Regions from separate parts of the Homo sapiens genome. Here regions 1, 3, 4, 5, 6 and 7 are each linked to region 2. Evidence: promoter capture Hi-C in 16 types of primary human blood cells and fetal thymus (Javierre and others, 2016). All regions are on one chromosome and are shown on one strand. Each heading gives the region's core, a stretch centred on a gene start or on the middle of the fragment in contact. The rest is flanking DNA. Distances are from core to core; before and after follow the strand shown. Region 1 overlaps SYNE1 (spectrin repeat containing nuclear envelope protein 1). Region 2 holds the start of ZBTB2 (zinc finger and BTB domain containing 2). Region 3 overlaps PLEKHG1 (pleckstrin homology and RhoGEF domain containing G1). Region 4 overlaps SYNE1 (spectrin repeat containing nuclear envelope protein 1). Region 5 overlaps SYNE1 (spectrin repeat containing nuclear envelope protein 1). Region 6 overlaps SYNE1 (spectrin repeat containing nuclear envelope protein 1). Region 7 holds the start of PLEKHG1 (pleckstrin homology and RhoGEF domain containing G1).

Evidence for each region. Contacts are between HindIII fragments. The CHiCAGO score rates a contact against its expected background, and 5 or more counts as called.
Region 1: a contact is called between a fragment that was not itself captured here and the fragment with the promoter of ZBTB2 in region 2, in 3 of 17 cell types (naive CD4 T cells, total CD4 T cells and activated CD4 T cells). The highest score is 8.5, in naive CD4 T cells.
Region 3: a fragment that was not itself captured here is called in contact with the fragment with the promoter of ZBTB2 in region 2 in 1 of 17 cell types (fetal thymus); the score reaches 7.2 in fetal thymus.
Region 4: a contact is called between a fragment that was not itself captured here and the fragment with the promoter of ZBTB2 in region 2, in 4 of 17 cell types (naive CD4 T cells, total CD4 T cells, naive CD8 T cells and 1 more). The highest score is 8.8, in naive CD4 T cells.
Region 5: a contact is called between a fragment that was not itself captured here and the fragment with the promoter of ZBTB2 in region 2, in 5 of 17 cell types (non-activated CD4 T cells, total CD4 T cells, naive CD8 T cells and 2 more). The highest score is 17.1, in non-activated CD4 T cells.
Region 6: a fragment that was not itself captured here is called in contact with the fragment with the promoter of ZBTB2 in region 2 in 3 of 17 cell types (non-activated CD4 T cells, naive CD4 T cells and total CD4 T cells); the score reaches 6.5 in non-activated CD4 T cells.
Region 7: a fragment that was not itself captured here is called in contact with the fragment with the promoter of ZBTB2 in region 2 in 1 of 17 cell types (fetal thymus); the score reaches 8.2 in fetal thymus.

Annotation. Positions count from the first base shown.
Region 1 is chr6:152,140,104-152,143,797 of GRCh38, forward strand. It overlaps SYNE1 (spectrin repeat containing nuclear envelope protein 1), which reads right to left. Exons shown (of 146, transcript NM_182961.4): 138 at 3,520-3,662; 139 at 1,100-1,226; 140 at 1-58. Among named protein-coding and RNA genes, the nearest start is that of SYNE1-AS1, 240 kb to the right of the region's middle. The HindIII fragment of the contact is 1,113 bases long and covers 1,280-2,392 here.
Region 2 is chr6:151,389,960-151,393,548 of GRCh38, forward strand. It overlaps ZBTB2 (zinc finger and BTB domain containing 2), which reads right to left and starts at 1,600. Exons shown (of 3, transcript NM_020861.3): 1 at 1,461-1,600. It overlaps LOC124901232 (translation initiation factor IF-2-like), which reads left to right. Exons shown (of 3, transcript XM_047419613.1): 2 at 1-513; 3 at 746-3,589. The coding sequence ends at 1,645. RefSeq lists silencers at 162-1,091, 1,172-1,561, 1,572-1,631 and an enhancer at 1,613-2,485. The HindIII fragment of the contact is 3,903 bases long and covers 1-2,820 here.
Region 3 is chr6:150,618,675-150,622,019 of GRCh38, forward strand. All of the region lies in intron 1 of PLEKHG1 (pleckstrin homology and RhoGEF domain containing G1), which reads left to right. Among named protein-coding and RNA genes, the nearest start is that of PLEKHG1, 20 kb to the left of the region's middle. The HindIII fragment of the contact is 5,144 bases long and covers 1-3,345 here.
Region 4 is chr6:152,123,457-152,126,938 of GRCh38, forward strand. All of the region lies in intron 145 of SYNE1 (spectrin repeat containing nuclear envelope protein 1), which reads right to left. It also overlaps a transcript of ESR1 not described here. Among named protein-coding and RNA genes, the nearest start is that of SYNE1-AS1, 260 kb to the right of the region's middle. The HindIII fragment of the contact is 4,815 bases long and covers 1-3,482 here.
Region 5 is chr6:152,160,928-152,164,577 of GRCh38, forward strand. It overlaps SYNE1 (spectrin repeat containing nuclear envelope protein 1), which reads right to left. Exons shown (of 146, transcript NM_182961.4): 131 at 3,236-3,398. Among named protein-coding and RNA genes, the nearest start is that of SYNE1-AS1, 220 kb to the right of the region's middle. The HindIII fragment of the contact is 2,524 bases long and covers 725-3,248 here.
Region 6 is chr6:152,211,238-152,214,986 of GRCh38, forward strand. SYNE1 (spectrin repeat containing nuclear envelope protein 1) reads right to left here. Exons shown (of 146, transcript NM_182961.4): 122 at 3,669-3,749; 123 at 2,375-2,522; 124 at 257-351. Among named protein-coding and RNA genes, the nearest start is that of SYNE1-AS1, 170 kb to the right of the region's middle. The HindIII fragment of the contact is 406 bases long and covers 2,231-2,636 here.
Region 7 is chr6:150,596,725-150,600,221 of GRCh38, forward strand. It overlaps PLEKHG1 (pleckstrin homology and RhoGEF domain containing G1), which reads left to right and starts at 3,161. Exons shown (of 17, transcript NM_001029884.3): 1 at 3,161-3,293. RefSeq lists silencers at 2,649-2,708, 2,889-3,183, 2,979-3,458. The HindIII fragment of the contact is 2,902 bases long and covers 1-2,741 here.

The sequences.
Region 1 (3,694 bases), core at 586-3,085, 750 kb after region 2:
ATCCTCAACTCCTTGCTCAATGCCTGGGCCTGGAGAAGCTCCCATCGGTCAATCACACCTGGCAAGACATGCATAGAACAGTGAGGTTATTTTCCTCTACATGTGATGTTTATGAAATGCTTTAAACATAGGTTGGCAGCCAATTTTAAATAGCAACAGAAAGAAAAGTAATTCCACTGGGCATTTTCGTTGTTGTCATCTGGAAATAACAGTTACATGGGTACAATGGCTGTGTTTTTTCTATTTGTATTTCTAATAATAATGAAGCAAAAAAGTTAGTTACATGGGCATTCACACTGTAAAGAGCTTTACGAAGTAATAAGCAGTCATGAGCACGAACGATCGTTCAATTCTTGGATCCTGTCTACAATAGGGCTCTGAGCACACACATATAAAATGCCTGATTAGATATGTGAGAAACAGTGCATTAAAATAATTGGAACATGAGAGCTGGGGTGGTAGTGCGCGCCTGTAATCCCAGCTACTCGAGGGGAGGCGGGAGGATTACTTGAGCCCAGGAGTTGGAGTCTAGTTTGGGCAACACAGCGAGACTTCATCTCAATATTAAAAATAATAATAATAAATGAAACATGGGCAAACACTACCATGATGGCATGCATCATCCCCTCACTGTCAAAGGAGACTGTTGGCCAGGTGTGGTGGCTCACGCCTGTAATCCCAGCACTTTGGGAGGCCGAGGCGGGTGGATCACGAGGTCAGGAGATGGAGACCATCCTGGCTAACACGGTGAAACCCCACCTCTACTAAAAATACAAAAAAATTTAGCTGGGCGTGGTGGCGGGCGCCTGTAGTCCCAGCTACTCGGGAGGCTGAGGCGGGAGAATGCCATGAACCTGGGAGGCGGAACTTGCAGTGAGCCGAGATAGCGCCACTGCACTCCAGCCTGGGCGACAGAGCGCCACTCCGCCTCAAAAAACAAACAAACAACAAAAAAGGAGACTGTTATAACTTGGAAGGAAGTTCTCAGGATAGAACGGTGTAGAAGAAGGCCAAGCCCCCTAAGTGGAATTTCGCTGTTAACAAAGTGCTTCAGGATCTTCTATTTCATTCACTCTTGAACTGGATGCTACGCACTCACCAGCCGTTTGGGTTTCGGTACTATGCAGGTTAACAAAGCCAGGAAGGCTCTCCTCTTCCTCCTTCAGTTTGTGCTCCAGTCTCTTCACGGAGTCTATACTGCTACTGCATTCGCCCAGCAGTTTCATCTGTTTAGACATAAACAACCGGCCCCTGTCACCCAAATCTTCATGAGTGCAAAAGCTTCCGGGGAAAATCTCTTTGTAATTTCTCAGCAAGAGAAGTGTCTGTGTTTGGCTCCTCTGTGCCACCCTGCTAAAAATAAGCCAAGATGGCCGAGTGTGGTGTCTCAGGCCTGTGATCCCAGCACTTTGGGAGGCCGAGGAAGATGGATTGTTTGAACTCAGGAGTTTGAGACCAGGCTGGGGAACATGGCAAAACTCTGTCTCTACAAAATATACAAGAAATTTAGCTGGGCATGGTGGCATGCATCTGTAGTCTCAGCTACCTGGGAGGCTGAGGTGGATCACCTGAGCTCAGAGGGTGGAGGCTACAGTGAACCATAATTGTGTTACTGCACTCCAGCCTATGCGACAGAGTGAGACCCAGTCTCAAAAAAAAGAAAAAAGAAAAAATAAGCAGAGGTAGGCTGGGCACGGTGGCTCCTGCCTCTAATCCCAGCACTTTGGGGGCCGAGGTGGGAGGATCAGTTGAGCCTAGGAGTTTGAGACCAGCCTGGGCAACATAGCAAGACCCTGTCTCTATAAAATATTTTAAAAATGAGCCAGGCGTGGTGGTGAGCACCTGTAGTCTCAGCTGTTCAGGGCACTAAGGTGAGAAGGTTGCTTGAGCCCAGGAATTCAGCTGCATGCAGCGAGCTAAGACCATGACACCGCACTCAAGCCTGGGTGACAGAGTGTGAGACCCTGTCTCTTAAAAAAAAAAAATTAAATAAGCAAAGTTCAAAAACATGCCTTTTAAACAGGTGATACATTCACATATACAAAAAACAATGCCTTAAAGATATACTTTGCATACATGATTTTGCACGAGAAGTCCTTCAAGTTTCTTTACGATTCATGACTCAAAACAGATTAAACCAATCTGCAATTTAAAACTCGGAGCCCTCAGCTGGCAATGCAGTATATAATTTTTGGCAAGCTGCTCCCTCTTTCTCTTTCTTAAATTGAAATGTGGGAACGTTAATGTTACGACAAATCTCATGGGAACTTTCTTGCATTAAATAATTAAAATACTTAAAATTATAGAGCAATATTAAAGCCAGCTGTTTTATAAAAAAAATGTAAGCAATGTTTAATAGGCATCAAGGGACTAAATTCTAAAGTCAAAGAAAAGCTTCCAAATTCATTTTTAATATCACATACAGTATTCAAAGATTAAAAGAACAAATCATTTCAAGATACTCCTGCTGTGCTTACCATAAATCCTTTAACAAATCACAATGCCAGTAGGACTGTTATTCTGATTACTTTTGATTGAGGTTAAGTGTAATCCCAGTGATGTCAGTATGATTACCATAAAACTATATCATAGGTATTTTTAAAAAGTGGTTTCACTATAATAGAAGTTGGTATAATAGGCCAAACTGAACAGGAAACAAACTCATAATTGACCGCTCTTCTGTAATTATAAGGATAATAAAATCAACATATATAGCTAGAACAGTTTTCTTTCCTAATTTCAAAGAGTAGAACATGTGAGTTGTGACCAGACTTGGGGAAATTCATTTTTCTTTCCTTGTACTAACCAGTCTTTTGGATATGAAAGAAGACGTGAGGCAGAGAAGAGACTGGCTTTAAAATTCTCTTCCTTAAGTACGCGTAGGAAAGCAGGTAGTTCTCTAGGGAAAATTAACTGGTCAGTAACTCGAGTAGGGCAAATAACCCTCTGCTAGACTTTATCATACATAGCCAATAGCCGCATAGATAGAACTGGTAGTATATCCAATGCCTTGCTATCTTTTCCCCAAATCCCTCTTGCTAGAACTGTTTTCTTCAGAATGAGCACACTAAAAAACAGAAGAGAAAAACATTCCCAAGGTCATTCGGTGAACCCAGGAAAAGAACTACCAAAAAAACTGCATGTTAGTAATCTATTAGCTAAAATCTGCTGCTCCAAGGATAACCTTGGTCCAAAAATTATTAGTTGAATTTGGAAAAATGCCTAATGACTTTTGGGAGCCAAAGTATTTTGTTGCTCTCAATGAAAAGGATCTCCCTAAGTGCTCAGTGTAAAGGAACAGGTTTGTCATTACAACAGTTTTGTGGGCCTAAAAACAGACAAGTTCTACTCAAATGGTAACTTAATAACAGGGCTTGGCTTTGCACATCCAGGTTCACGAGTTCAAGGGCAGCATGGTATTCAGAGACCACATAAAGCCCTGATGCTGCAGACGAACTGTTCTTTGACACAGAACTGTGGTTTCGCACAGGTCGGAATCAGGATGGCCAGGATACTTACGTAGCCTTTGTAGCTGGTGTCTAGCTCCGGCCCCGTGGGAGTTTTGCTGCGAATGATATTTTCGGTTTGCTGTATCTGAAAACGGCTATCATCCAGGGCTTTGCCCAGTTGTCGGATCTGTGACTCTAGGGCACTGTGGTCCCCTGCGGTGGCAACCATAAGAATCTTTACTGGA
Region 2 (3,589 bases), core at 350-2,849:
CGCTACACCGAGAAAACGACGCCGGCCCCGGGAAGCAGCCTCCCCGCCTTGGAGTCCGGTTGGGGCGTGAGGGCCGCGCGGGTCCCACGCCCCAAGGCTAAGCAGCCGAAAGCACAGCGCGCTCGGGGCCAAACCGGGCTGTATCGCAGGCGCAGATGGCGCGTCGGGCGGAAGCTGGAGGCCGCCGGCTCAACACGCTCCGTACCCGGGACTGGGGCCCGGCCTGCAGCCTCAGCGAGCAGGCGACAAGGGCGGCGCCACAGAGGCCGACGCGTCCCCCGCCCGCCTGAGCGCGCCGCAACAGCCACCTCGTCCCACCCGCCCCGGGGCGGGGCCGGGGGCGCGGCGCCGGGGCCCTCTGGCCCCCTCCGGTCTCGCCGGCCCCGCCCCCTCCCTGTCCCCGTCCCCGAGGGGCTGAGGGGGAGGGAGGGGCGACGCACTCCGGCCGCGTTGCACGCTCGCCGCTTCCCTCAGTCCCGCGTGCGCGCGCGCGCTCGCCCCAAGTCCCGCGGAGTTTAACACAATGCCGACGCCTACGCCGTGCGCAACGCCCCGGCCGGCGCAACAGCCCCGGCGCCGGGGGCGGGGGTGGCCCAGACAGGGAGAGAGGGAGAGGGATGAGCGCGCGCGAGAGCCGGAGACAGCGCGAGACCCGAGGAGGCCGGAAGCGCGCGTGCGCGCCCCCGCCCGCGAGCGGGAGGCGGAGCCGCAGCAGTAGCGGCAGCAGCTGTAGGAGCCGCTGCAGCTGGGAGAAGCGCCAGAGAGGCCGGGCCTGCTCCGGTCGGACCGGATCCCTCCCCTCCCCCTCCCTCCTCCCTCCCCTCCCCCAAACCCACTTCCGCAGCTCGCGGCCTTGCCGCCGAAGCAGCAGCGGCGGCAGCAGCAGGAGGCGGCGGCGAGGCGTCGGAAGGATTACGCACCTGACGGGCCCGCCTCTGAGGGCTCCAGCGCGGGACGCTCACCGGCCGCCGCCGCCCAGGGCGCACTTCGCGGTGGCGGCGGGAAGGGAGGGACCGGCCACGGGGAACCGAACGCGAATCGCCCCCCTCCCCTTCCTCCCTCCCACCCTCCCTCCGATCCGCCGCCCGCCCTCTCGGCTTCCGTCCCCTCCCCCTCCCACAAAACCCCGGATGGAGGCGCCGCCGACTCGCCGCCGCCTGGCTCCGGGGGATGGTTTTGTCAAGCGGCCAGAGCCCCGGCGCCAGGCGCAGCCGCCGCCGCCCCCGCGAGGCGCCCCTGCCCTCGCTTCCCAGAACCGGGTCCCCGAGTGGCCCGGGCCTTCCGCCTGCCTGCACCCGTAGCCCTGGTACGAGGGTCATTCGTCGTCTTTGTTGCCACCGCCTCTGCCGGAACCGTTTGCGAGCTCCGGTGGCCCCCGCCCCCCCACCGCCTTCCCGGACCCTGGGCTGGGGGTGGCACGTGGGCACCGGCCCCGGGAGGCGGAGGCGGTGCGCGCTTACCTGTCGCCGGTGCTGCTGCGGCGGGGGGTGTGGAGGAGGCGCCTCTGGGCAGCCTCGGCCGTGCTGTCCTCCCCGCCGCCGCCGCCTCTGCCTCTCGCTGCTGCTGCTGCTGCTGCCGCCGCGGTCGGTGTCTCCGGCGCGGCGGCGGCGGCGGCGGCGGGGCTTTTCCTGTCCGGTTACGTTAAGGTCACATGACCGAGAGAGCGGAGAGACTAGTGCAAAGAGGCTGCGAGCGGCTCCCGCCGGGGGGGAGAGGCGGCGAGAGAGCAGTGGCGGCAAGAGCCCCCTCCGCCCCCCCCCCAGCCGCTCCCCTCCCCCCGCCCGCCTCCGCCTCCTGCTGCTCTGCCGCCGCCGCCGCCGCCTGCAGCACTCCACTGCCGCTCCCACCCAGGCTCCGCGCTCTGCTCCAGCCAAACTTCTGCAGACCATGTGCAGCCGAGGCGAGGAAACTTCTCTCCACCTATTGGGGCTGGAGGCCTGAGTCACAAGCCCCTTGTTTACATAAAGTGTTTAGGTAGCACAAGTCCTTGAGATGCTCGGGGTAGAGATGGAGAGCCACTGCTCGTATCCTTCTGCCGGCTTCTGCTTGAGATCTCTTGGCCTTTACCCTTGTCCCTTGACTTTTCGTGTTTGTTTTAATCTTTAAGACTTGAAATGGAGTGGCCTTTAGAACCGGGGAGATACTGTAAACCAGCAGTATCTTTGTGTCACCAATGGTAACTGAAAGTCATGCTGAAGTACAGATTCCTGTAGCGTGCACAGAGGCAGAGGTGCTTCCTTTACCTTGCAGATGAGTTGAGCGGCGTAAGATGTTTCTGTTAGGGTTGAATTTCATGGTTATTTCAGCAACGATTTTCGTTTTTGAAGTTTTGGCCCCCCCAAAAATGAAAGTCTGCAACGCATGTTTGTTAAGAGAACAGTTTATTCTCCTGTTAGGTTTTGGTCTTTGAGGTATGGATTCCAGAGTTGGCTATTCTGTTAGATTTAGAGGTGTGGAAAATCTTTTAACGGGGAGATCCTGAAACACGGAAACATGGCAGGGAAGTTAGAATTTCCTGATGGTCATTTTTAACATTTTAAAGTTTACTTTTTGGTTGTTGCCATTTTTCTAGAATCCGTGTCTTTTTTGGGGAAATACAGTCCTTTGAGGACTAGAATTTAATGATTTCTTTACACATCTAGGATTTTTTGAGATTTAGAAAGGATATGGCTTTATTCCTAAGGAAGTGGAGGCAGCAGTTTCTAGGATACTCTGGTTTCAAGGCATGCTAACTTGGTTGTGATGTCTAACCCATTTTGGTTTACACAGTCTGACCACTAGCACAATGCCTGGCACATAGTTTACAAATCATTTAAGGCAAGCTTACCATCTTAAGACAATTTAATACATAGAAGTGTCCCTCCTAAAAATCTGAGTTTGATTTAGAAATCCAGTTATACCTGCAGGTACTGATGACTAATTCCTTCTTTGAAGACAAAATAAGCAGCTGTGTAGCTTCAGTGGCTCTCAAATGGATAATAGATTCAGTGTATACTCGCTTTGAACTTTCCTGTTTTTTGATCAGCTAGATAAATGACTTTAGTGGGTAAATGTCTGCCTCCAAAACCAAATTCTGACCCTGATCTAAGTATTCTACTGCACCGCTGTCACTGGAATATCAAAGTTGGCCTTCAGACTGGTGCCTGGTTCCTTGGATTGGCTTGAGTATTGAGGTCTGTCTCATCTTACTAGGGAACTAAAATGATGTTGATTGTTTTGTAGAGAATTGTAATTAGAGATCTGTAGGTTCTTAATTCTTTTGGAATTCCATTCTGAAAATTTTCAACCTTATGGTGTTGGTGGAGTGCTCATGTGAAGAGTGAAACTGACTTAAGAATAAAAGAAAAAGTGGGCAAAACTAATGCTAAACTTGAGACCATTGGGCAGAAATTTGCCTGTGTGTGTAGAGTAATTGGTCTTGAGTCAAAGTAACTATGCTTATTTTTAACATCACTGAATATTTTCTAGCGTTACACTCTATATAGGCTTGTAGAAATAAACCCAGGGGTAAGCCCAGAAATTGAATATCAGTCCTAAAGAAAGCCTATCAAGAGCATCCTATTCTCTTTAAGAGCTGCTATTCGAATTT
Region 3 (3,345 bases), core at 560-3,059, 770 kb before region 2:
ATTTTAAATGTATATTATTTACTCTTTAATAATGGCTTCAACACCTGGCTTACAAAATTTCTGACATTTAACAGCTGGCTCTTGTGAGTTGGTACAGAAATAAAAGGGAAGAAATGATGGAAAGGGAAAAACAGGCTGGATGCTCAAAATCCCAACACTTTTGGAAGTCAAGATGGGGAGGATAGCTTGAGACCAGGCATTCGAGACTAGCTTGGACAGCATAGCAAGACCCTGTCTCTATAAAGAAAATTTTTTTTAAATTATTTGGGCATGGTGGCAGTATCTGTAGTTCCAGCTACTCCAGAGGCTGAGACTGGAGGATTGCTTGATCCCGGGAAGTCAAGGCTGTGGTTAGCTGTGATTGCACCACGCACTCCAGCCTGGGCAATAGAGTAACATCCTGTCTCTAAAAAAAGAAAAAGAAAAAACAGTTCAGACTTACTTTGGGAACAGATCCTGGACAATTTGACTCAAATGATGGCCCTTTCTCAAAATTCAACGAGAGATCCATTTGAGCTAGAGACGTTTGGGTTTAGGGGAGGGCGTTCAAAGGTCATCTGAGTTTTGCACTCAGTTTCTCCTTCCAGTGGTCTCCTTTGCACTTTAGCACCCCTGCCTGCGTTCGCCTTTCCCACCTCCGCACCTCCCTGCCCTCTGCCCCATAAATGCTGTTGCATTCTTTCATTCTCCCTTCTTCTGCCTTGTAGAGTCTTTTTAAAGCATTCTTCATCCTTGTGTCTTTCTGATGTCCATCATCCAGCTCAGGAAACCAGTGACTCCAAATTCCTGCTGCCTTGGAGGGCAATAGAAACTCATACAACTGGTCATAGATGTTTTTCTGACACAGTTTCATCTGAATTAATTGAGTGTTGACTGCTTTATTCCTGATACCCACTGAGATGCTTCATACCAAGGGAACAGATGATGAAGGGCATAGAAGGCAGTTTGGGAGCAGGGAGCTTTTGCAGACATAAGGCAGCTTTTATGGAGCAGGAGTGAGAGGAAGTACAGGGGTAAAGAAAATAAAATGTGTGCTTCTGGATGCTTTCTTTAGCCAGTCATAAAAGAAAAAAGGTTCTTTTTTCTTTCACCCTTCTACATTATGTTCTTCACAGCTCCAGGGACCAGGGCTTAGGATAGCGCTACTCCACTTCTCATAGGAGCACATGGTAAAAACCAGCTCTCAGTTTTGGCTGAGATGACAGGTCTTTTAGACAACAGCCCATTTACTGCTTGACTGCTTATAGTTTGAGGGCATAAATTGATGTCTTTTTCCTAAAAGGTGTGTTTTGAATTAAGGAGAGTGTTTCCACACGTTTTTGTTATCTCATTAACACCAGCATTTATGATGCTGCATTTTCTGTATATGTATTATCGTTTATTTGGTCACAATCACACAATCATTACACATTTCATATTTTTGTTTTTTGTCTTTGTGTTTATTTTTATTGTGTTTATTTTCTTGTGTATATTTTTTATAACTTTTATTGTGTTTTTAATCTGAAAGGGGATTTTCGTGTGGGTGAATGGAAAGAAAAACAACAATTTCGGTTTGATTGTTAGAAATAATTCTAAGCCTGTATTTCCCAAAGTCCTTCACTGGCCCTGGGCAGGGAGCCCTGAATACTGGGAGGCCTGACAGCGTTTCTCTCCAAGGAAGACACCGCTACTCAGAAGCACCTCAGCTCTGCTGACTCCAGGCTGTGCCCAGGCCAGACCTAGTGGGTCTTGATCAGGGAAGAGATTGCTGCTGCAACCTGGCCTGTCCTTTGTCCCCCCAGACCCCTTCAGTATTTGTGCAAGAGGGGAAGGGCTCTATGTAAACACTGTCACTCCCTCTATGGCCATCGGGCCCTCCACACCCACTTATTCCAACTGGAGGGTAAACAGAGCCAATTGTGTGTTCTGTTTTGCTTGTCTTTTAAATTGCCAGATCTTACTGACTTGACTTACCTATTTTCAAAAATTGGTCTATTTCTGCTGTTAGGAGGACTGTATGTCTATATGTGTGTTCATTCAGCAAATATCTCTATACCCGTTTTGTGCCAGGCATCAATCAGTTGCACCATGCATTTGGGATATAAGGGAGACAGAACGGAGGCTCTGCCCTCGTGGGGTTTGCAATCTCTACAAGAGACATTACAAACAAGGGAACATCAGATATTATGAGAAATGATCAGTGCCATGAAGAATGGGAGAGAGAATGAATTGAGATTGGAGAGAGTCTCTCTTAGGAACACCCAAATAAAACTTGGTTGTTCATAACCTGAAGAAGGAAATAAAACAATGCAATTTATCCTGCCTCTGACAACAAGGGAAAACCTTTGGCCTCTCTTGGATTGAATCTCTAAGTTCCTGACTTTAGTCTCTCTGTGCCTCAGTTTTCTACCTTTAAAATGAATTTAATAATGGTCACAAACTCCTGGAGTTGTTGCAAAGAGTCATTAATACTGGCAATGTGCTTAGAGTGGGGCCTGACAAGTAGAAGTAGTAGGACTTGATATAATTATGTACAGGAATGATGGTTGGTGAGGGTCCAGCATTTGTGCAAGAAGGCCGTGTTCCAGAGTGTCAGACTCTGGGGCTGTTGCTTTGCTAGGAGATAATAAAAGTCACAACCTCTCTGAATATCAGCTTCCCTTTTTGACACATGGGTTCCTATTAGTTTTACCACCTCAGGGGCTTTTGTGGCACAAATCAATTTTTTTTTTTTTTTTTGAGATGGAGTCTCACTCTGTTGCCCAGGCTGGAATACAGTGGCACAATCTCGGCTCACTGCAACCTCCACCTCCTGGGTTCAGGCGGTTCTCCTGCCTCAGCTTCCCGAGTAGCTGGAATTACAGGCCTATGCCACCACACCCAGCTAATTTTTCTATTTTTAGTAGAGTCGGGGTTTCACCATGTTGGCCAGGCTAGTCTTGAACTCCTGACCTCAAGTGATCCTCCAGCCTTAGCCTCCCAAAGTGCTAGGATTACAGGTGTGAGCCACCATGCCTGGCTGGCACAAATCACTTTAAACACTATAAGCCCGCAATTTGAAAACTGGGAAATACTAAATGAGTGTAGATGATGTTATTGAGCAATAACACGGACCATTAGTGACCTATTTGAATATATGGTTATGAGTGCTGTCCAAATGTACATCTGTCATCATTTGTGCTACACATCTTGTTCTGTTTACTTCGATGTCTGTTTTCTGCTAAGGTAACATCTTATGACTTGAACACGTTACAGTTCATTACCTGGTCTTACCGTGTTGCGTCCAGAACTGTTGTGTGAGTTGCAGTTAACCTTGAGCTGTAGGTAAGAGATGCACATTTGAATCCAACTCATATTTGAGGCTCT
Region 4 (3,482 bases), core at 900-3,399, 730 kb after region 2:
TTTCACTTTTATCTTCCTTTTAAACAGTGCATTAGAGATTGAGTACAGGTTTCAGAACTCTTAAGAAGGACTGCCTGGAAAATACAGAATCTGGAAGTAGATTCTGAGTTGGGTGCTACTGTTTTCTTTTTGTGAACAGCCATTACCTTTTTTTGGTTACTAGCAGAAAAGATGAAGAAAGAAATGTTGTTTACGACAGGCATTTGGTGTACACTCAGACCCATACAACATTGAATGAACAAAAATAAAAGATGTAGCCAAAAGAAACACTCCCTCACAACTAGTATAAATTCCTTAAGAGTTTTAATATCACCAAGGATAAGGACATTGTATGTGAGGCTACTGAAATAATATGAGCGTGTGAAAGCTGTATTGGTAACTGTAGGTTTGGTCCAGAAGAAAGCACTATGTTTGTAGCTCACCTATTACCTATTAATTTCTGAAGACAGACTACCCTAATATCGGTGGGGGATGCGGAGTGACACCTAAGAAAATAAATGTTAAAAACAGATAGAATCCCCTTAGAAGGGAACAGAGGGAGTATTCAAAACTCTTTTATTAAACCATCAAAGAAAAATGGGAGAGGGCTGGGCACAGTGGCTCCCGCCTGTAATCCCAGCGCTTTGGGAGGCTGAGGTTGGCGGATCACTTGAGGCCAGGAGTTCAAGCCAGCCTGGCCAACATGGTAAAAATACAAAAATTAGTCAGGCCTGGTGGCGTGTGCCTGTAGTCCCAGTCACTTGGGAGGCTGAGGCAGGAGAATCGCTTGAACCCGGGAGGCGGAGGCTGCAGTGAGCCATGATCGGAACACCACTGCACTCCATCCTGGGCAACAGAGCGAGACTCTATCTCAAAAACAGATATTGGTTCTGCAGAAACCCCAAGAAACAGGCAGCACGCAGTGTTTCTATACACTTCTTGTGGTGTAAGGAAAAATCAAATCACTGGTTTAAATTGGAAGCATGTTCTTTTCTGAAATCCACACAAGTAACGGCAGGGTAATGTAACCTTGAACAACTCACTTCATCTCTAGGTGTCAACCTCTTCACTAACCTCTTCAAATTAGCATAGATGGTCTTCTAACTTTAAAGTTTACTGTTCGATGTTTTTGTCTTCTACTGATTTGTCAGTATAAATAATCTCCCAAGAAGCCACAAGAGCTCAATCACCATCTAGTGGTCAAACTGATTAACTGCCCTTGTGCTAAGACCAATGAGTTATTCCTAATAAGCTGAGGGAAAAAAAAAGTATATTTTGTGAAAATATAGTAGAACATAAAAGAAGTATGTCATATACCTTATTAATGGAAAAGGAAAATAGAAACTTCTTGAGTTACCTGAGCATAAAATATTCATGTTGAGACAGGGCCTTAGAGAGCATCCAGTTCATCTCCTAATTTTGTAGGGGAGTAGCTAAGGACAGTTCATGTTTACTCTTCTAATTGCTAGGCAGCACTCTGAGCATTTATGTTGGGTTCTGTCATTTAATCCCCACAGCAGTCCTCTGCGGTGTGTACTTATTAACTTCATTTTACAGATGATGTGAAAGAAAGCTCAGGGAAGTGAAATAACTGGCTCAAGCTCACACAGCCAGTGGCAGAAGATTTCAACCCTGTGATTTTAACTACCAGAACCTGGAGACTCTAGACAGGCTGAATGACTTGCTTCAGATTCTACAGTTAAAGGAAGAGGCCTAGCAGGGACTCAGGCTTCCAAAATCCCTGCCCACCGCACTCTCTGCTGTGAAATGTTTTGCTGGTTGGTGATAGGAATAATGGTAATGGTAATTCAGGTCGTATTCATTTCACAGGTATCTCACATGTAGAAGCAAAGAAGAGAATCCTGAACTTGCATCCTAAAATATTTGGAAACAAGTGGTTTCCTCGTGTCTAAAGCCTCTGGTCATAAGGCCTCACAGTATCCTGCAGATCATCAAATCCGTGTGTGGACGTGGGGACATTTTGTTTTGAGGCAGTTACATGACCATGGGCAAGTAAATTAGTCTCTCTGGCCTTCAGTTTTCTCATTTGCAATGATTCAATGGTTTGCCTTAAAGTGTCTTAAGAAGGATAGGATAGCTACCCACAAACTTTGGATCAAATTTTCTTCAAAACATCCTTCCCCTGACTTTAAAATATGCCCTGGCAACCAACACTCAACACCTGTAGCTAGATGAGTTATAACAGAGTGACTGAAGAGAGCTCCCACAATTCCTAGTTATTAAATACCTGACTAATTTTCATTAGGAGACATTTAAGAACTTTAGTGATGGGAAGATTTACATATATAATTGATAGTACAATCTGACAGAGCTGAATAGCTCCTGTTTGTCAACTGTTAAATTCTTTGTGCAATTAGGTCAAAGATCAAGATCAAAACAAGGGCTGCCCATTGACCTGTTCACTCCTGAGAAAAATGGCAAACCATTGAATCATAAATCATGACAGCCAAAATAATTTTAGGATATTAATGCACCCCTCATCTTTGCAAATGAGAAAACTGAAGGCCAGAGAGACTAATTTACTTGCCCATTTTTGATAAAAATGTCACCATTTACAGAATGTGGACTCCTATGTTGGAGTCTGTTGAAGGACATGGCACATTTAACAGCATCAGAGCATTTTTTATTAAAATTTAATTTGTGCATGACTTCTAATGCTGAAGAACGCCAAGCTAGGAAGAAGTCATGGGCTGAGATGGGGACAGAGAGAACACACAATATTCAGTGACTGTCCGTGCAGCTGGCTGCCCTTGAAAATATCCGAACTATCCACTGGGAAAATGCCTGTCCCCTTGGGGTAATTACCAGAGTTTCAACATGCCCAAAGCTGCCTCATCTTCAGGGGGAACTTGTTCTAGCGATTTTAGTATCAAGAAGCTAATGGTCCCAGGGAAAGGGTTATTTTTAATATTTAGCTACTGTGCTAAAAATCACCTAAGTTTCTAGAGTCTTGGGAAATTTCATAAGGGAAAGAACAAAGGCAACTTGTTGACTACCCACTGGTCATTCTCCTCTGGTCTTATTACATACATGGATGCCAGTTTAGATTGTGTTTATATAGGAAAAATTAAATGTGTGAGCCTCCTTAAGGAACATCATCAATACAGATATATCAGATAGTTCTGTCCAGCAAAAAACGTGCTTATTTGCTACAAGTAAATTTTTATTTATTTTTCTCACTTCCCTCACTCCTTCAAATTTCCAGGTAAATAGCTGCCCAGGAGTTGCTTCATCTCTGTCCCAAAATACCTAGACAATTGCGGGATAAGGAGAATGGCAGGGAGGGAGTAGTGGCTAAAATCACACCCTTCAAAAGAAAGTGTGTAGGACACACAATTGTGAGAAGTCTGAATGCCATGCACATAGGGTATGACTCACTTTGAAAATTGTTTATAATCAAGGAAATGAAAATGAGTTAATTTCGTGCATGCATCATTTAAAGCCAAATGAGAAGAAACTTCTAATTTATTTTGTTACTTTTC
Region 5 (3,650 bases), core at 737-3,236, 770 kb after region 2:
TTTTAGATATATATATGAATATATATACACACACATATGTGTAATGTGTGTACACATATACGTGTAATCTTCCACAAAGTAAACAAAAAGATAAATATATGAAAAATAGGAGAGAAATATAGACATAAACATAATAAAATTAACAATAATGCGAGAGTTTCAAAATCCAATTCAGTTATTTTATAAAAGTCCCCCCAAAAAAGAATAAAGAAAATGGAGAGGAGAAAATTAACATCGTAGTAATGTAACAAAAATATAAATATATATTTAATAATAAATATATAAAATATATTTTTACATTACTACATTATTTATTTCATAATAAACATATATTATTTAATAATAAATATATATATTACATTACTACTATGGTAATTTTCTCCTCTCTATTTTCTTTATTTTTTTTTAGCAGGGGACTTTTACAAAATAACTGAATTGGATTTTGAAACTCTGGCATTATTGTTAATTTTATTATGTTTATGTCTATATTTCTCTCCTATTTTTCATATATTTATCTTTTTGTTTTACTCTGTGGAAGATAGTCTCCATTCTGAATGCTTTTTTTAAAGAAAAATGGCATCCTATCATTTTATGAATGCAAAACCTCTCATTTCTGTGAGTTTGTTTGTTTTGTTTTGTTTACATTTTCTTTCTCTACAATGTGTTTCCTCTGATTGTTCCTTTCTTTATTTCCCTCTATTTATTTTTTTTTCTTAATGGTAGAAGCTTTCTTAAGTGGTGAGGATTCTTGCCTACCCACACATATTCAAGAATGAGTCAGCTATAGAAGCTGTGTATGCACCTAAAGTATGTCAACTGGGAGGCTTCCCTGTGGAGAGTTAGGCAGGGGTCTGGCCTTTTCTGGGTTACCTTAAGTATCACTAATTGAAGGTACTTTTTGCTTGTCTGATCAGTTCTCCAGAAAGGATGCTCCAATCTCCTGGCTAGGGTGTAAGCCTGGGTACTGACATAGTGGGAGCCAAGCTGGGGAAGCGGGCTGGGAGCCCTAGCATTTGGTATTGAGCCAGTCACATCATCTCCCCATTTTTAACATAGTGACTCTAGCCTCCACGGTGTCCTGATCCCCAAACCCAGAGTCCCTCTGGTTTGCTTTCTCCAGAGAGTAATCATCTGATCTTCTACCTGAGTAAAGGAAGCAGAGTTCCCTGGCTGGCTGGGCTTAGGAGGAATCTGCCAGTCTCAGCACACCTTATTCAGATTTTCAAGTAATCTTCCATTTTACAGCTCAATAGGCAACTCAACTTTCAGCTTCACCTGATCTCCACTTTCTGAGCCTTCTTCGAACTCTGTGGCATGAATCAACTTTCTCCACCCTCCATTCTGTTAACAACATCACTGATCTATCCACTTTCTATCTTGCAAAATTATGTTGGATGTCTGTCATCTCTACCATTTTCTCTCCTGTTCTCTTTGCCATTGTGGTTTTAACCTTTTTCCCTCTCTACCATCATTTTATTGGGGTTTTAGTAGTAGGTGGGGCTATAAATACATATGATCAATTTGCCATATTTAACTAGATATTTTGTTGATTTTCATACACTTGTGAAATTACGATACCCGCCATTTGCATTTCAACTCATCACTATAGACATCATTACCATGTTCTCTGGAAGAATCTGGGAAGCCGGATGCCAACCAGGATCCCTACAATTCAATCATCAGAATCTCAAACATCACCACCCATCAGAAAACTTTAATTTCATAAAAATTGAAAAACGTCTTGCTAACAGTTTTTTTAAAGCAATGGAATATAGTGTATGTTTCAAGATAGCTAGAAGAGAAGATTTTGAGTATTGTAAGAAATGATAAATGTTTAAAGTGATAGATATGGTAATCAAATTACCTCAGTTTGTTTGATTATTACACTATGAAAATATGCATTGAAGCACCACGTTGTACCCCACACATATGTACAATTACTATATATTCATTAGAAAGAAAAAAATTTTAATGATAATTTTAATATTAAAAAAACCTCAACACCCAAAACTGTATTTTGACACCTATTTCATTGGCTTAAATAGTCTGTAAAATGAAGTAAGTACATAAACTATAAGATTTTAAAAATAGGAGGTATTTACATTTTATAGCATTTTAAAATTAAGCAACTTTGCTGCAATGGCCTAAATGTAATGGAGAGAACCAGAGTGTGGATAGAATATTCAAAGCAACCTAAATGCATGGAGTAACAATACCTCTAGCGGGGGATTTACAGTGTTTGCTATTGGCAACTGGAGTCCGATATACTTAGCAAGGATAAATGAGGGGGCCTGGCACAGTGGCTCACGCCTGTAATCCCAGCACTTTGTGAGGCCGAGGGTGGGCAGATCACTTGAGGTCAGGAGTTTGAGACCAGCTTGGCCATCATGGCGAAACTCCGTCTCTATTAACAATACAAAAATTAGCCAGGCATGGTGGTGCATGCCTGTAATCTCAGCTACTTGGGAGGCTGAGGCAGGAGAATCGCTTAAACCTGGGAAGTGGAGGTTGCAGTGAGCTGAGATCGCACTACTACACTCCAGCCTGGGCAACAGAGTGAGACTCTGTCTCAGGAAAAAAAAAAAAAAAAAGAAAGAATAAATGAGGGAGGGAATGGGAGGTGAAAATTTCTTCTGTATACATTTTCCAGGATCATCCCTTTTTGCTTTGTTGGGTTGTACGCCGCCAGTGAGATATTCTGTCTTTGCTACACACATGAAAGTGGAATTACTGTGTGCGATCTGCAGGTCATGCAATCCTTTTTGCAAAACAAAATTTTTTCAACTTGAAAAATTCTAAGTATGCCTTGTAATCTTTCCCCAAACACTATACACAGGAAAAAAAGTCGGGGGCAGGGGGGCTCCTTTCAGTCCTGTCTAAGTGTATGGTAGTGGGCTAGGGCTAGTGACTCTCAAATAAATAAACCAATCTGTTAGCACTGTTTTAGATACGTAATTGCAACTCCACCTTACCTACCATCTTAGAAGGCTTCTTGGTGGATGGATGACACTAACTGTACAATGGCACAACCATCTTTGTAAGGCTGAACTCTGCAGTGACATGGAACCTGTTGGCCTCAATCGCCTGCCTAGGCAAAGCCCCCTTCCTCACCAGTCCTGCCTAGCTCCCTGCTGACCTTCCATCTCCAGGCACCATCTCATGCCCACCCCATCATCCTGGCCAGGAGGACAGATATTCCATGGCTTATTAATTCCATTTCCATTTTAAGTCTTACCTGCTGCTCATTAAGCTTTCTCTGTATTTCTTCCGAGTTACAGGAATCGTAGACTATTGGCTTGGCCAGCTCTGACTCGATGTGAGCGAGCCAGGTCCTCAGGCTGCTCATGTTCTTATCAAGCTGCTGCACGGCTACCAGGGTCTCCTTCAGCTTCTTCACCCTGTGGGCAGAGAAGGGGGAATGTCCCACTTCAGCGAGAGGCCCACTCATGTTTCTCTAGCGTGCAGAGGAGAACACTGGGCTTTAACAATCTTTTTAGGCAGAGTTAGAAACTCATGTGGAAGAAGCCAAAGACAGAAGACAAAGGAGGATAGAAATTAGAGATGAATACAGACAAAGGAGCAAGGATGCAGAGGAGGCAGGGGTCCAGGGCACAGGAGCAGAGATAGATAAATTAGTTTTGAACACAGTT
Region 6 (3,749 bases), core at 1,184-3,683, 820 kb after region 2:
AGATGACTAGTGAAGGTTGGCTAGGTGATTTCCAATTACTCTATGCCCTTCATATAATATAATAGCAGCTCTCCAAAAAAGATTCAATACTCATTCATTTCAGAGATTGAGACAAGTTTCTCCTCCAATTACTGAGGCCCCACTACAGTTCAATTGCCTCAGGAAGATTGGATATATGCCCTCCAATCTGCTCATTAAAAAGAAAATGACTAATTTACTGGAACCTTTCTTTGTAATAATTTATCAAAGATCCTACCTGTCATCAACTTGACCTTGTTCTAGAAGACGTTGCCCATCAATAATGATTGAGTGCAAAATCTGCTGACGACTGAACATCTCGGCTTGAAACAACTATAATTTAAAAAAAAGAAGAACATACTTTAGAGTTCCTAATTTTAGTGATCGGTTCTCTGATAACTTTCCAAATATTCTAGTTTTCGCAAGACTATGAAAGCTATCACCAGCTGAACCAGAAAATGTGTGAAATCCTGCAGTTTAGGAATCATTTATTTTTAAATCATCAATTAAGATACACTCAAAGATAAAGTTTAGTGTTTGGTTTACTAAAACTAGATGACCAAAAGTAGAATTATATTTCTCTTCTTTCTTTCAAAAACACCTAATAAAGTAAGTTAATGCACAATTTGTTTTCTGGTTTATTTTGTATATAAAATATGGTCCATATTCAAAACTTAGAGAATAGCTTAGGACCGTTAAAGAAGTCAAAGAAAAAAAATAGCCTAGTCTTTTTCTGTCTTTTAAAACTCACTGTTTTTAAGTTTTAAATTTTAAAATTAATAAATTTTAATAAATTTATTTCACTATTTTAAAAAACTCAAGAGAAGGTCCTTCGAATTATTTCTACTGTTTTTTAAACAACTTTATTGAGTAACAATTCACATACCATACAATTCACTCATTTAAAATGTTCAATTTAGTGGTGTTTATTATATTTACAGACTTTACAATCATTACCACAATCAATTTTAGAATTTTCATTGCCCCAAAAAGAAAGTCCATCCTCATTAGCAATCATTCCCCATTTCTTCCCAATCCTCCAGCCTTCAGCAACCACTCATCTATTTTATGTCTCTATGAATTACTTACTCTGGACATTTCTTGTAAATGGAATCTTGCGATATGTAGTCTTTTGTGACTGGTTTCTTTCCCTTGGCATAATGTTTCCAAGGTTCATACATGTTGCAACATATATCAGTACCTTATTCCTTTTTATTGCAAATAGTATTCTATTATATAGACATTTCACATTTTATTTATCCATTTATCAGTTGATGGACATTTGGGTTGTCTCCACCTTTTGGCTATTATGACTAATGCTCCTATAAATAATGTACTTACACAAGTTTTTGTGTGGACACATATTTTCATTTATCCTGAGTATATACCTAGGAGTGGAATTTCTGGGTTATATGATTACTCTACGTAACTCTATATGGTAACTCTATGTTAACTGTTTTCCAAAGCAGCTTCACCATTTTACATTCCCATCAGCAATGTATTAGGGTTCCAATTCCTTTACACCCTCACCAAAATTTGTTATTTTTTCATTATAGTCATCCTTGTGGGTGTGAGATGCAATCTCATTGTAGTCTTTTTTCTATTATTTCATCATCTGTCAATTCAACAAAACTGGATTTAAAAATACCTTAGATATCTTTAAATTTTCTATTTAAAAAATTCTGAATTAAGTTTTTCTTTTCTCTTAGGTAAGACCTATCTCTCCATGTGCATATCATTCATAAATACACAAACTGACTTAGTTATACCGGTAAATAGCAACATAAGGATTAACAGTGGGCAAATTTATTAATTTACTTTGTGTATATAGTTCTTCTCCCTCTTTGTTTCTTAAGAAATAATTATAATGCAATTTAATCAAGAGGTACACCTGGAGACATTTGATAGATTGATTTCCTGGTATAAAATTCATATACGCTCTTTGAAGATCACAAAATTTTTAAAGACTTTTGATCAAAGCATAGTCTCTTAAGCAATTGTCCTTGGCATATTAAAGTAGTCTCTAACCCAGTTTGAAAATTGTCTAACTATCTATACACGTTCCACCAACTTTGCCTGTCTCGAGTAAGTAGCCTTTAACCACAATTCTGGCATTATACTTTACAAGGAACTGAAGATTGACACGTGCTTATAAACAATCATGGAGCAGCGAATAGGACTACATTTTTATAATTAAGTTATCAAAACCTCAAGCTTAAGAAAGAAGGCAAAATGATGCATGCATTTAGACACTCGTGCAAAGGGCATGATTTTAATTCTCCCACACAGCATTTCGTAGCATCTTCTAAGGGCCTAAAAATTTCTTATTACCCCCAAATCTACTGATACAACTTACCTCGTGTGCTCTCTGCTGTTCCAAAAGGTGCTGATAATTTCCTGAAATCTCTACTGCTAACTTTTGTTCTGTCTGAACTAGGAATTCCATCCATGTTTCACATTTTTCCAAGAAAGTCTGATGTTGTAGCAAAAATGACTGCAACTTGCTGAAAGAACAAAGGGCAAGGAACAATGGTTATTTCACTGCTTATTCTTACTTCTCTAGCATATAAAACTAGATTAAATAATCTCTGTGCTCAATTCTAATTGAACCACCACAAAGCTTTCATGTCAGGTGGTAAAATTATTTTAAAAAAGAAGAAAGAGGCCAGTTGCAGTGGCTCACGCCTGTAATCCCAACACTTTGGGAGACTGAGGTGGACAGATCACCTGAGGTCAGGAGTTGTAGACCAGCCTGGTCAACATGGTGAAACCCCATCTCTACTAAAAATACAAAAATTAGCCGGGTGTGGTGGTGTGTGACTGTAATCCCAGCTACTTGGGATGCTGAGACAGGAGAATTGCTTGAACCCAACATTGCAGTGAGCCGAGATTGTGCCTTTGCACTCCAGCCTGGGTGACAAGAATGAAACTCCGTCTCAAAAAAAAAAAAAAAAAGAAGAAAGAAAGTTGAAAAAATGTAGAAGTTTAAAATGTACCTCTTTTAAAATGATAAAAATTATGTATATACTTTTAATATATTCTCACTTAAAAGAGTTTTCTGATTAAAGTGCTATTTAGTACACTAAACATGAGAAACGACTTTACAATTTGAATTTCCCACTTTTAGTTCAAATTTTGTCAGTGTTATGGGAAAGATCAGAATTTATAAACATACACAAGTCATGAGCTTATATTCTATTGATACATTGGTGCTATGGTGTGAATGTATCCCTTCCATAATTCAGGTGATGAAACTTCGTGGTGAATGTTGGTAGTATTCTGAGGCAGAGCCTTTACACGGTGATTAGGCCATGAGGACTCCTCCTTTGTCAATGGGATTAAGGGTCTTTTAAAAGAAGATTCACACAGCGTTCAGCACTGTTGTCCTTCTGCCTTCCACTGTGTGAGGACACAGCAACTCTCCCCTCCTGAGGATGCAGCAAAACCTGCCCTCTTGAAAGCAGAGAGCAGCCCTCACCAGACAACTGAATCTGCTAGCACCTTGACTGCGGACTTCCCAGTCTCCAGAACTGTGAGACTGTTCAACATTTCTGTTCTTTATAAATTATGCATTCTGTAGTATTTTGACATAGCGGCACAAACCAGACTAAGACAACTGGAGCAACCAAGACATCTCTTGTTTACTCTACCTGAATCTTTCTGTAGTCTGAGAGGAGATCAGAGACCAATGGCGGTTCAGATTCTGCATTCTTTTGATTTCCTTATCATTC
Region 7 (3,497 bases), core at 41-2,540, 790 kb before region 2:
ATAGCTGTGTGGCCTTGAGCAAGTCACCAAACTTTCCTGAATAGCTGTGACCTTATGCATAATTCAGGGATTATAGTATCTACTTTACTGAATCTGTACGAGGAAGAAATAAGACACCATAAGAGGCATTTAATAATCTTTTTAAAGTAAAAGTTGTACAGGTTTGTTACATAGGTAAATGTGTGCCATGGTGGTTTGTTTCACCATCAGCCCATCACTTAGGACGTTCAGTCATCTTAAAAAGCAAGAACTTCTCTTCTACAGAAATCTAATTGATAGACCCACTTTTACTTGAGAAGGAAAAGGTATAATTTGAGGGTGGGCTAAGCCTGGGCCTGTTGCCCTCAGCCTCTTCTTGTGAAGAGAATCACTCAGAATCACAGGGTTATGGGGATGGGTGGGGGAACACTCCTTCAGGCTGTGTCTTCTGAATTCCTCTGTCTAGGAGTGGTAGTGACTTTCTGTTGCTGTTAATTTCTGGGCTGCCTCACTGTCTCTTTTTGGATTCTTGATTCTTCCATCACTTGTAGAGCCAATTTCCTGCATTAAAGTCCCTCTTTTATAAATACTTGAACTGGGTTCTGTTCCCTTTGTTTGACATTGACTGATAGAGCAGTATTAGAAAGACCACTCGCCAAAAGAATTTTCCCAATGCTGGATGCACCATTAGAAAGCCATTCCATTGGGTCCTTTTCCTTAAAGTGGAAGAGTAGACTCTTACTAACAGAATGCTACAGCATCTTCACAACTCTTATGTTGTCCGTTCATCCATCCAACAATCCACACACTGAATATCGTATACCTATTGTGTGTTAGGAGCTGAACTAAGTGCTGGACACACAAACCAGACCCACAATGTGTCAGGCCAGGTGATTTCAAGGAGCTCAAATTCTAAAGATCTAAAGGGCAGAGTTCATTTGCCTGGAAATCAGGAATGATCACAGGACTTAGGTGCTTAGTGCTATACTTGGCATACAGTCTCAACAAAAGAAATTTCTTGTTCCTGTTTCCACTTTCTACCTCCCACCTCATTAATAAACTGAGGTGAAGTGAGCGGGCTGGCCAGGAAATATTATAACCATCCCATAAGCACAGTACCAAATTCAGAAGAGCTATCTGCCTAAGGGTGAGTGCTCTTGAGCAGCAGCATCTGCAGCTGATCCAGTCTTTTCATCAGATCATAGTGCTTCATCCACAGCTTCATTCGAAGCACTTGTGCTAAGAAATGCATAACTGAGGCCAGGCATGGTGGCTCACTCCTGTAATCCCAGTGTTTTGGGAGGCAGAGGCTGGAGGATTGCCTGAGGCCAGAAGTTCGAGGCCAGCCTGGGTAACATAGCGTGACCCCGGTCTCTACAAAAAAAAAATGGTAAGTAAGCCCGGCATGGTGGTGCATACCTGTAGTTCCAGCAACCCAGGAGGCTGAGGCCAGAGGATTTCTTGAGCCCAGGAGTTCCAGGCTACAATGAGCTATGATTGGTGCCACCGCACTCCAGCCTGGGTAACAGAGCGAGATCCCGTCTCAATCAATCAATCAATAAAAGAGGAGACAGCAGAGAACAGGAATCCCCAATTCTCCTCCCTTCCTTTCCAAGTTGTCGGAAACCCTTATCTCTCAGCCACAGACACACTCATCAATGAGCTTCTTTGAATCCTAGATGCTTTGAGTGTCAAATAAAGGCTGGCACCTACCTCACAGGGTTGATGGAAACCATTAATGTGGTACTATTTCACAAACATACTGCACACTTCTAACACAAATCACAACATAGAGAGATGGGGTAACAGGCATGATTTTGTGTGAGCTCCAGAAGCTGGGCAGGGTCTTAATTAAGCTCAGTTTCCTGTCTGTGAAAGGCGACTAGCACCTGTCCTGTCAACCTCACAAGGTTATCGCAAGGCCAACTGAAACAATGCTTTGAAGATGGCAAATGTCTGTTTTAGTCCCATTGCAAATCTACCGTGGTAAATGTATTCCAAGCATAACCCAGTCCCATAGTTTTAGGTAATACAAGTCAGTTGTGGAGACTCAAATTATAAAACAGAACATAAACTCCACGTGGTAGAGAACTGTGATGCTGTGTAGCCTTACTGCACAAACCTTGTTTTGTTCCCAGTCTTTATGATAATTTCCATAATCATGTATATGCATAAAAGCAGATAAAAGGCAAAAATCAACAAGAATAGCTAACATTTATTCAGGCTGTAGAGCATGTGCCAGACAGTCTCCTAAGCCCTTCACGCACATTCTCTTATTTAAATCACATACAGCAACTCTATGAGGTAGGCACTATCATCATCATCATCATCATCATCTCCATTTTACAGATGAGGAAACAGACAGAACACAGAGAGGTTAAAGCGTTCTCTCAAGGCCACACAGCTAGCAAGTGGTAAGGCTGAAGGTCTGTTAACAACTAAGAGTGCAATCAAATCCACCACCAAACCTAAGGGGGTCCACAGGCGACCCTGATACGTCCGACTTTGGCGGGAGATTAGTGTTAAGAAATGACTTCACATGCCTTTAACTGTCGCTGCAGGCACCTTTGATTGGAGTCATAACTTTACTGCAGAGCCGGTGCCTTTAAACATCTCTCTGGCTGTCACCGGTTATTCTTTACCTCCGTTTCCACTTTTACTTTCTCTAGGCAAAGGTCGTTTGGTGCTTTAACCGAGGTGATTAGGGTAATGACGCCTGAAGAACACCGGGCTTCCCCCTCTTTTCACTTGATTACCGGCAAAGCTTCTATGTAAAACTAGAATGTTCACTAAAACCATGATTTTGGGTATTATTTTAAAGGACTCACATAGGAAATTATTACGTCCAAAGGAAAGCTAAACCTGAAGAGCTAGGAAAATGAAAAAAAGTGATGTGTCTGCGAAAACAGTAGCAGAATTAAAAAAAAAAAAAACTTTATTCCCCCCGAAGCTGTAATTTGACTGTTCTCTTTGGCAAGGCTCCAGAGACAAGGCCAAGTGCCTAATTTCTCTTTCTCTTCGCCCCCCTCCTCTCCACCTTTTTCACCCTCAGGGCAGAGGGGAGGCGGGACGAGCGATCCACTGCTCCGGCCGCCGAAGCTGGCGTCTGGGCGCGGGGAGGGGCGGGCCGGGGCGCGGCCGAGCAGTGGGGCCGAGCCCGAGGAAGAGGAAGTCGGAGCCCGAGCCTGAGCCCGAGCCCGAGCCCGACGGCGGCTGCAGGGCGCTCCGGCAGCCCGAGCCGGCGCAGCGCAGCCCGCACCCTCCCCGCCCGACCTGCGAGCGCCGCCCGGGCATGCGAAGCCGTCCCTCCCCGGGTAAGCGCCGGTCGGGCCCGGACGCCCTGGGGACTTTTCCAGGGATGGGAGGGGGGACCCGGGGACCTCCGGCGGGAGCCCCACATCCGCAGGTGGGGCCGGGCGGAGCGTGGTACCCGGGCCCCGCCGGCCCCCTGCGCGCCCCTCCGCAGTGGGGACGGAGGGCCTTGGGGGGCGCCGAGCGGTGGGGACAGAGGGCGCCGG